Linked DNA regions of Homo sapiens: all the other regions are linked to region 3. Evidence: promoter capture Hi-C in human tissues and cell types (Jung and others, 2019). All regions are on one chromosome and are shown on one strand. The core of a region is centred on a gene start or on the middle of the fragment in contact, and the rest is flanking DNA. Distances in the headings are between cores, read along the strand shown.

Region 1 (3,408 bases), core at 457-2,956, 190 kb after region 3:
TGAGCCCACGCTCTCCAAGCCAGGAGGGTCATAAAGCAGCATGGGGAGAGGTCAAAGCAGGGCCCTGCCTCGACCTGATTCCCATGGGGACTCCAAGAACACCCGGCCTGCGGGCCCCACCCCAGTGGCTCTGGGACTCCCAACTTCCACCCAGGCCAGGGCAGCTGGGTAAATACAGAGACTCAAAAAGAGCCCAAGGTGACACTCAGGGTCTGCCCAGCTCCATGTGTTATGGCAGGAACCCCTAGGTACCTATTAGCTGAGGCATGGGGACCTGTCAGAGAAAGTCATTTTCATGGGGGTAAAGGGACTCTGAAGCCAAGGGCGCAATCAGTCAATGGGACTGTTTGAGCCAAGAATCAAATGGAAGTTCCAACCAGACGTCAGGGCACCTCCAGAGCAGCCAGGACATCATCAGCCAGGGTGGAGGGCTGAGCTCCCCAGACCACAGATGATAGCAGCCACAGGCTTCTGCAACAGCCCACCAGGCTGCCCAGGGGCAGGACAAGACAGACCCACCACCTAAGCCTCCAGCAGCCAGGGCCCACCCAAGGGCAGAACAGCCACCTGCCTAGAGACCAGGTGCTCTCCTTCCCCCACCACATGTACCACCCCCACTCAGAGAGGATCAGGGGCTGAGGGGAAGAAGGGAGGTCTGCAGTGCTGACCACGTGTCCGTCAAGAGACTGTGGCATCCCCAAGAGACAATGCTAGCCAGTAGAAACAAAGGGGCTGCATTCTCTTTGCACCTTGGGTGCAGTGTGCTCATGTGGGCTTTAAGAATTCATGTAATTAGCACCACAGGCTAATGATAACCCCTCCCTAGATTAAAAGACAGTCCCATCATCTCCAGCATCTGGCCCCTTGGAGAAGAGTTTGCAGAAGGAAGAAAAGAAGACCAGAGAACATTCTCTATAAGGCCCTTTGCAGAGAAGAAAGCTCAGCTCCTGCCTTGGAAGCAAAGCTGTAGGAAAGCTCTTTCCCATCTTGCAAGATGGCAGGTGAAAAAGTTGAGAAGCCGGATACTAAAGAGAAGAAACCTGAAGCAAAGAAGGCTGATGCTGGTGGCAAGGTGAAAAGGCATCACCTCAAGACTGAAAAACTCAAGAAGGGGAAGCCCCATTGCAGCCTCAATCCCGTCCTTGTCAGAGGAGTTGGCAGGTATTCCCAACCTGCCATGTATTCCAGAAAGGCCACGTGGAAGAGGAAGTACTTAGCTGCGAAGTCCAAGGTTGAAAAGAAAAAGGAGAAGGTTCTTGCAACTGTTACAAACCAGTTGGTGGTGACAAGAACGGTGGTCCTGGGTGGTTAACAAAATGCCTAGATATTACCCTACCGGAGATGCGCCTCGAAAGCTGTTGAGCCACGGCAAAAAAACTTTCAGTCAGCACGTGAGAAAACTGTGAGCCAGCATTACCCCCGAAGCCATTCTAATCATCTTCACTGGATGCCACAGAGGCAAGAGGGTGGTTTTCTTGAAGCAGCTGGCTAGCGGCTTGGTATTTAGGACTGGACCTCTGGTCCTCAATCGAGTTCCTCTATGAAGAACACACCAGACATTTGTCATTGCCACCTCAACCAAAACTGACATCAGCAATGTAAAAATCCCAAAACATCTCACTGATGCTTGCTTCAAGAAGCAGCAGCTGCGGAAGCCCAGACACCAGGAAGGTGAGATCTTCGACACAGAAAAAGAGAAATACGAGATCACAGGGCAGCGCAAGATTGATCAGAAAGCTGTGGACTCACAGATTTTACCAAAAATCAAAGTTATTCCTTAGCTCCAGGGCTACCTGAGATCTGTGTTTGTTCTGAGGAATGGAATTTATCCTCACAAATTGGTGTTCTAAATTTCTTAAGAACCTAATTAAATAACTGATAACATTTAAAAAATAATAAAGCTGTGGGGACAGAGGCCTGGGCCGTGTCTGTGAACAGCATGCCGGAGTGGACATGGGCCAGGAGGAGGCACAGTGAGCCGTGGGGACACCCCGTGCTGTTCACAGGGCTGGGCACCCAGAGCACGGAGCAGAGCGGCTTTCTTCTTCCCCAGGCTGCTGAGCCTATGCTGAGTGTGTGTGGAGGGCGCAGAGGGCCGTTTGTTGGGGCTGGGAGCTAGCCCACTCTGCCGTCTCAGAGCAGATACAGCCATCAATTACCCCAGCATGTGCAAGAAGGATGCCATTGTCCACACGCTGGGGCTGGGTTTGGAGCGCACTTGGAGACGGAGATCTGGGTGCAAGTGGATTATGGGGGTGCCCTGGAGACCAGCCCCCGCCAGGGGTGAGGGCAGTGGGAATGAGCAGTAAAGGCCTCAGCCAGGCTCACAGGCAGCTCTGAGTCTGCGCGGCTGCACAGCAGCCTGAATCAGGCAGGTGGCCCTGACGTTACCTGGCATAGCAATCAGCCACTAAAGCAGGTGGCACGGGAGGAGCATGAGCTTACGCCAGGCAGCCCCCTCCAGGTGAGTCCTGGGAGGCGATGCCTGTGCCTCTGTCTTGGAGGGGGAGTTTGGGGCGCCCCCCCACCACAGCATTCACACGCACCATGCTGGGCTTCCCGGCCAGGCCCCAGGCTTGCCCGCAGAGGTGAGCCCGGCTGGGGTGGGGCCTTACACCTGGTGCCTGTGTCAGCCTCCCCTGGATGGGATTTGGAGTTTCAGTGGATACCAACACCCATGGAGGGCCCACGATGACCTGCTTTCCAATTAAGTGAACACCTCAAAGTCCCTTCCGGCGTAAACAATCTCTGATTCCTTGATTTAATCCTCCACAGTTAAAGGAACCTCTGCACTAATGGGCTTGAGTGACGTCTTTTTGCACAGTAATACGTGGTCGTATAACCCCCACAACGTGTCTCTAAATCCATGTAACAGTCACTGCTCTCAATAGTGATCACAGTTGTGCAGAATTGAGATCTGAATGCTGGTTGTGGTTGTGCAGAGCTGACATCTGAATGCTGGTTGTGGTTGTGCAGAGCTGACATCTGAACGCTGGTTTTGGTTGTGCAGACCTGAGATCTGAATGCTGGTTTCGGCTGTGCAGAGATGAGATCTGAATGCTGGTTTCGGCTGTGCAGAGATGATATCTGAATGCTGGTTTCGGCTGTGCAGACCTGAGACCTGAATGCTGGTTTCGGCTGTGCAGAGATGAGATCTGAATGCTAGTTTCAGCTGTGCAGAGATGAGATCTGAATGCTGGTTTCGGCTGTGCAGACCTGAGATCTGAATGCTGGTTTCGGCTGTGCAGAGCTGAGATCTGAATGCTGATTTCAGCTGTGCAGACCTGAGATCTGAATGCTGGTTTCTACAGTGGATTTGTCACATTCACACGTAGCGGGGCTTGGGACTTGAATGTATCTTTTTGGAGGGACACAATTCAACCCATAACACGCCCCTCCTGGGCACCT
Region 2 (3,326 bases), core at 662-3,161, 130 kb after region 3:
ATATGGTTCAGATCTCTGTCCCCACTGAATCTCATGTCGAATTGTAATCCCCAGTGTCTGAGGTGGGCCTGGTGAGAGGAGATTGGATCATGGGGGCAGAGTTCTCATGAATGGTTTAGCGCCATCTCCTCAGTGCTGTTCGCGTGATTGTGAATGAGACCTGGTTGTTTAAAAGTATGTGATACCTCCTCCCCACTCTGTCTTCCTCCTGCTCCAGCTGTGTGAGATGTTCCTGTTTCCCCTTAGCTTTCCACCATGACTGTAAGTTTCCTGAGGCCTCCCCCAGAAGCAGAAGCCACTATGCTTCCTGCACAGTCTGCAGGACCATGAATTCTACCTCTTTTCTTAATAAGTTACCCAATTGCAGTATTTCTTTATAGCAATGTGAGAATGGAATAATATACCTCTCTTGATGGGCATTTTCAGGATTCCTCTCTAGGTGGGCGTTCCCAGCATTAAATTGGCAAAAAAGCGAATTCTCCGTTCTTGTATTTCCAGGAGCCTTCTCTCTGACTCCAGATCCTACCGTGACACTGACACATATATGTGCCAGTGTGCCACCTCCTTCCAGTGCCTGTTCTCTTCTCCCACTGAGAGTGAACAGCAACTTCTCAGTTGAAAGGGTCTTTTCCAGGCCAACCTAACCCCTGGCATCCCACAAAGATGATCTAGGGCAGCAGTCCCCACCATTTTTGGCACCAGGAACTGGTTTCGTGGAAGACAATTTTTCCATGGACCGGGGATGGGGAGTGGCTTCAGGATGAATCAAACACATTACATGTATTGTGCACTTTATTTCTAGTATTATTACCTAATAATATATAATGAAGTAATTACAGAACTCACCATAAGGTAGAATCAGAGGGATCCCTGTGTTTGTTTTCCTGCAACTAGACAGTCCCATCTGGGGGTGACAGAAAACAGTGACAGATCATCAGGCATTAGATTCTCATTAGGATCTCACAGTCTAGATCCCTCATATGGGCAGTTCACAATAGTGTTCACACTCCTATGAGAATCTAATGCCACCGCTGATTTGACAGGAGGTGAAGCTCAGGCAATGATTTGAGCAATGGGGAGCAGCTATAAATACAAATGAAGCCTCACTCCCTCACCCGTCACTCACCTCCTGCTGTGTGGCCCAGTTCCTAACAGGCCACAGACCAGGACCGTTCTGTGGCTCAGGGGTTGGGAGCCTCTGATCTAGAAGACAGCAATGGTCAGCGTCTTCCAGGAGCATCTGTAGCCGAGGCCTACAAGAAGCTCACAGTCCAGCATCACAAATGGGTCAAGTGAACAACCACAATCGCCTTGCAGCCAACAGTAGGCCAAGTTACAGATAAGTCTTATCAAATAGACATTATCTTCTGCACTTTATAGGCGAGGAAACTGAGGAACACGATGTTTAAGTAACTTGAGCAAGTGGTAGAAGCAGTACTCAAACATAATGATTGCAGTTCTACGAAAAGCTCAGATGAAAAAGCTAATCCCAAAAGGTCACACACTGTCTGACTCCATTATATAACATCCTTGAAACAACAAAACTATAGAATGAAAAACATATTGGTGATCACCACGGGTTAGGGAAGGGAGGCTGGGGGGAGGCGGCCATGGTTGTAAAAGGGCAACAGGAGGGATCCTTGCGGAGATGTAACTGTTCTGTGCTTGATTGTTGTGGGGGAGATGTGAACCTACCCATGTCCTTAAGGCTGCACAGAACTACATAAACACACACACTAATGGGTGCAAGGAAAAATGAGGAATCGGAATAAGCTGGGTGTATGGGTGTATTGTACCAATGTCAATATCCTGGTTGGGATACTGTGCCATAGTTCTGTAAGATGTCATTATCAGTGGGAAATGGATAAAAGGAACATTGGAGCTCTCTGTGTTATTTCTTGGAATGGCTTGTAAGCCTACAATTATCTCAAAACAAAGCTTTTAACTAAAAGATACAGTATTCATAAAATATGTGTGTGATAAAACTTATCAAATTTAGCATTTATCTAAAGAGACATTGAATATGCTGTGATATGCAGAATTTGTTAGTGTTGTTTCAACTTATTTGGTAACTTTTTTTGGACACGGTGTCTGGCTGTCACCCAGGCTGGAGTGCAGTGGCAGGCTCAAGGCTCACTGCAGCCTCAGACCTCCTGGGCTCAAGTGATCCTCCCACCTCAGCCTCCTCAGTAGCTGGGAATACAGGCATGCACGACCACATCCAGCTAATTTTTGCATTTTTTGTAGAGACAGGGTGCCACCATGTTGCCCAGGCTGGTCTCAAACTCCTGGGCTCAAGCAATCCTCTGGCCTCGGCCTCCCAAAATGCTGGGATTACAGTTGTGAGTCACTGTGCCTGGCCAACAACTTTTATAAGTTGTATTTTAAGGTTTTGTACATTCTGTGAACTTAAAGTAAAAAGTGAAAATGATTATAAAGTTAAATCAATTTTAGCCTTGAAAACAAAGTGCTCAGAAACTCTGAGGGAGAATTCCCTTCTTGCTGGCAGATTAAGACAGGCAATATGATGGGAGTGATGTTTGCACTTGGTCTGGAAGCATGAGCTCTGTTTTGACAGATAAGGTGGAAAAGAGGAGTGTTCCATATTGAAAGAAAAGTGGACGCAAAGCTCAGAGTCAGCTGAGCACAGGACAAATCCAATTTGTGCTTTCAGTAGCTATTCTAGTCCTATTCAGACTGGTGTCACGGTACTGATCCAAACTTAATCTTAAATTGTGCTCTTTTTTAAAGATTTTTTTTATGTTTTTAAAAAGTTTTTTGAGTTTTAGGGTAAAACTACATTCAGTTTTTTTATTTGGTTTCTCTTTAGTTTAAAAATTTGCTTTAAGGCCAAGAGTGGTGGCTCATGCCTGTAATCCTAGCACTTTGAGAGGCCGAGGTAGACGGATCACTTGAGGTCAAGAGTTTGAAACCAGCCTGGCCAGGATGGTGAAACCCTGTCTCTACTAAAAATACAGAAAAAAAAAATATATATATATATATATGTATGTGTATATATATATATACAGAAAAGATATATATGTATGTATATATATATACAGGAAATATATATGTGTGTTTGTATATATATATACAGAAAATATATATATGTATGTATATATATATATATACAGAAAATATATATATGTATATATATATATATATATATATAAGAGCTGGGTAGGGTGGCAGGTGCCTGTAATCCCAGCTACTCGGGAGGCAGAGGCAGGAGAATCACTTGAACCTGGGAGCTGTAGGTTGCAGTAAGCTGAGATCGTGCCACTGCACTCCAGCCTGGGTGACAGAGTGAGACTCTGTCTAAAAAA
Region 3 (3,341 bases), core at 339-2,838:
GTTGCTGGGAAATTAAATGACAAAAATGCAAAGCACTCAGAGACTGCACTCCGATGCCCATGGAGAATAAGTGGCAACTCTTATTATTACTCAACCTTTCTGAGCCTCGATTTCCTACTCTGTAGTAGCATGTCATTGTCTGATGCTAAATGGAAATGAAGTAAAATTTGTAAAACGAAGTTTCACTAAATAATACTTCATGTGATGTATTCTAATATATTCTGTTTTATGCTAACTCATTAAAGAAAAAAGAATACTGTCAGTGACCCAGTAAATTGATTTCATAATCCATTAACGGACATGTCCTTAAGTTTTAAAAAACCCAGCCTACAGAATACATTTTTAAATAGACTTTATATTTTAGAGCACAATTCAACAGAAAGTACAGAGAATTCCCACATGCCCCCTGTCTCCACAGCTCTCCCCTGCGCATCAACATCTCACACAGGGTGGGACACTTGTCATGGTGGACCACCCCACATGGACACGTCATCATCGCCCAGCACCGAGTTTGCATTAACATTCGCTCCTGGTGGTGAACATTCTATGGATTTTGACCATTGCATAACGACACATATCCGCCATTATGGTACGTTTCACTGCCCTAAAAATCCTCTGCTCTGCCTATTCATTCTTCCCTCCAGAATATTTTTAACACGATCTCGAGGCCATAGATGATATCAGTAATTTGCAGTATTGATGATAGTGGTGAACCGGAGGAGAGAGACACTGTTAGGAAGCTGCTGTAGTGGTTCAGGTGAGTGAGGACAGAAGGACAGCTGTGGCTGCAAAGGCTGGAAGAGAGGAGGGTGTGGGACACTGGTCAGGAAGAGACAGGCCTTGGTCAAGGAGTGAGGAACGGGGAAGCAGGAGCCACTGGACCCTAGGGGTCTGGAAGCTAGTGGCCTTGGTGTGGGACTGCAGAGAGATAGGAGGTGCCAGACGGCAGGGACTTCAAGGCAGAATTGAAATCTGCTGAACAGCAGGCGTCGGTCAGCTGGGACAGCCGGAAAGCTCGGGATCAGGAGGCGGTCAAGCTGAGCTCTGCTCTCATTCCGCCGCGTGACCTTGGGCAAGTCCCTTCCCTTCTACAGGAGGCTGGACTAGATGTCCTCCTTGTACAGCGTTGCGGGGAAGGTGAGACAGTGCCACCAACACAGCAGGGCATTGCTGGGTCGGGGGGATGGGGCAGGAAACGCTTCAAGGATCAGGCAGGATTTTCCTCCCACCAGGAAAAGCCGGCGCGGGTCTAAGGCCGGAGGAGGGACCCAGACATAGGAGTCACCTTCTAAGGGGCTTCCTGGAGCACATTTTCCTGCCCAGCAACAGGCGGCAGCATTCTCTCCCCACTAATCCTCTCCAAACAGCAGTGAGAGAGAATGCCTGCCGCTTCAAGCCAGGTCGCAACCCCTCGGTGACCCGCTGCGCCCGAGGAGGGGCCGGCGGTGCGCGGTGGTGGCGGCGGGCGCGGCAGCTGTGCCCGTCTGCCCAAGGGTTAATCCGTCCCCTGCAGCTGCCGCGCGTGCCTTGCAGAATTTCACCAGAAGAGGGTACAGTTTGAAAAGCTCCTGACGTCAGGCTGGAATTCCTATTGTGTTTAGAAAAGGCTCGGGCAAAGCCAGCCCAAGTTCGCTCTCTGCACACCTCGAGCACCTCGCGGACGGCGTGGGTCCGCCAGCTCCGGGACCTGCCGCCGCTGCCTGCGCGCCCCGGGGCGGAGGACGGTGCCAGCCGCCCACGAGGAGACCCCGCTCCCGCAGGAGGCCGAGCTGAAGCGGCGGAGCGCGCCGCCAGCCAGCCGGGGTGAGTGCCCCGGGCGAGGCCGGCGGCCGCCAAAGCCCCCGCGGGCTCGCCCGGGCGCCCGGATGCCAGCCCCGAGCCCCGCCGCCGGGTGCATGCCTCCCCCGCGGCGCGCCCCCGCAGGCTGCTGCCCGCTGTGACCGCCCTTCCCCGCAGGCGGGCGCCGGCCAGGCTCTCCCCGAGATCAGCGCACGGGTGGCACCCGCCGGACCCCCAGCGGCAGCGGCGGCGGCGGCTGCAGGGGGCGCGGGGCGGAGGCTGCGAGGGCGCGCGCGGGGAGGATGGACGGGTCCGGGGAGCGCAGCCTCCCGGAGCCGGGCAGCCAGAGCTCCGCTGCCAGCGACGACATAGAGATAGTCGTCAACGTGGGGGGCGTGCGGCAGGTGCTGTACGGGGACCTCCTCAGTCAGTACCCTGAGACCCGGCTGGCGGAGCTCATCAACTGCTTGGCTGGGGGCTACGACACCATCTTCTCCCTGTGCGACGACTACGACCCCGGCAAGCGCGAGTTCTACTTTGACAGGGACCCGGACGCCTTCAAGTGTGTCATCGAGGTGTACTATTTCGGGGAGGTCCACATGAAGAAGGGCATCTGCCCCATCTGCTTCAAGAACGAGATGGACTTCTGGAAGGTGGACCTCAAGTTCCTGGACGACTGTTGCAAGAGCCACCTGAGCGAGAAGCGCGAGGAGCTGGAGGAGATCGCGCGCCGCGTGCAGCTCATCCTGGACGACCTGGGCGTGGACGCAGCCGAGGGCCGCTGGCGCCGCTGCCAGAAGTGCGTCTGGAAGTTCCTGGAGAAGCCCGAGTCGTCGTGCCCGGCGCGGGTGGTGGCCGTGCTCTCCTTCCTGCTCATCCTCGTCTCGTCCGTGGTCATGTGCATGGGCACCATCCCCGAGCTGCAGGTGCTGGACGCCGAGGGCAACCGCGTGGAGCACCCGACGCTGGAGAACGTGGAGACGGCGTGCATTGGCTGGTTCACCCTGGAGTACCTGCTGCGCCTCTTCTCGTCACCCAACAAGCTGCACTTCGCGCTGTCCTTCATGAACATTGTGGACGTGCTGGCCATCCTCCCCTTCTACGTGAGCCTCACGCTCACGCACCTGGGTGCCCGCATGATGGAGCTGACCAACGTGCAGCAGGCCGTGCAGGCGCTGCGGATCATGCGCATCGCGCGCATCTTCAAGCTGGCCCGCCACTCCTCGGGCCTGCAGACCCTCACCTATGCCCTCAAGCGCAGCTTCAAGGAACTGGGGCTGCTGCTCATGTACCTGGCAGTGGGTATCTTCGTCTTCTCTGCCCTGGGCTACACCATGGAGCAGAGCCATCCAGAGACCCTGTTTAAGAGCATCCCCCAGTCCTTCTGGTGGGCCATCATCACCATGACCACCGTCGGCTACGGCGACATCTACCCCAAGACCACGCTGGGCAAGCTCAACGCGGCCATCAGCTTCTTGTGTGGTGTCATCGCCATCGCCCTGCCCATCCACCCCATCATCAACAACTTTGTCAGGTACTACAACAAGCAGCGCGTCCTGGAG

What was found. The method cuts DNA at HindIII sites, captures the fragments that hold promoters and counts their contacts. A contact is called where the count stands out against the background at its distance.
Region 1: a fragment that was not itself captured here is called in contact with the fragment with the promoter of KCNF1 in region 3 in 2 of the 25 tissues and cell types used here (IMR-90 fibroblasts and pancreas).
Region 2: a contact is called between a fragment that was not itself captured here and the fragment with the promoter of KCNF1 in region 3, in 4 of the 25 tissues and cell types used here (IMR-90 fibroblasts, mesendoderm cells, neural progenitor cells and 1 more).

Annotation. Positions count from the first base shown.
Region 1 is chr2:11,101,148-11,104,555 of GRCh38, forward strand. All of the region lies in intron 8 of FLJ33534 (Putative uncharacterized protein FLJ33534), which reads right to left. It also overlaps the pseudogene RPL6P4. Among named protein-coding and RNA genes, the nearest start is that of FLJ33534, 29 kb to the right of the region's middle. RefSeq lists enhancers at 2,562-2,641, 2,652-2,821, 2,842-2,991. The HindIII fragment of the contact is 9,721 bases long and covers 1-3,408 here.
Region 2 is chr2:11,044,307-11,047,632 of GRCh38, forward strand. No RefSeq gene overlaps it. Among named protein-coding and RNA genes, the nearest start is that of FLJ33534, 86 kb to the right of the region's middle. The HindIII fragment of the contact is 4,621 bases long and covers 1-3,326 here.
Region 3 is chr2:10,910,346-10,913,686 of GRCh38, forward strand. It overlaps KCNF1 (potassium voltage-gated channel modifier subfamily F member 1), which reads left to right and starts at 1,589. Exons shown (of 1, transcript NM_002236.5): 1 at 1,589-3,341. The coding sequence starts at 2,082. The HindIII fragment of the contact is 13,350 bases long and covers 1-3,341 here.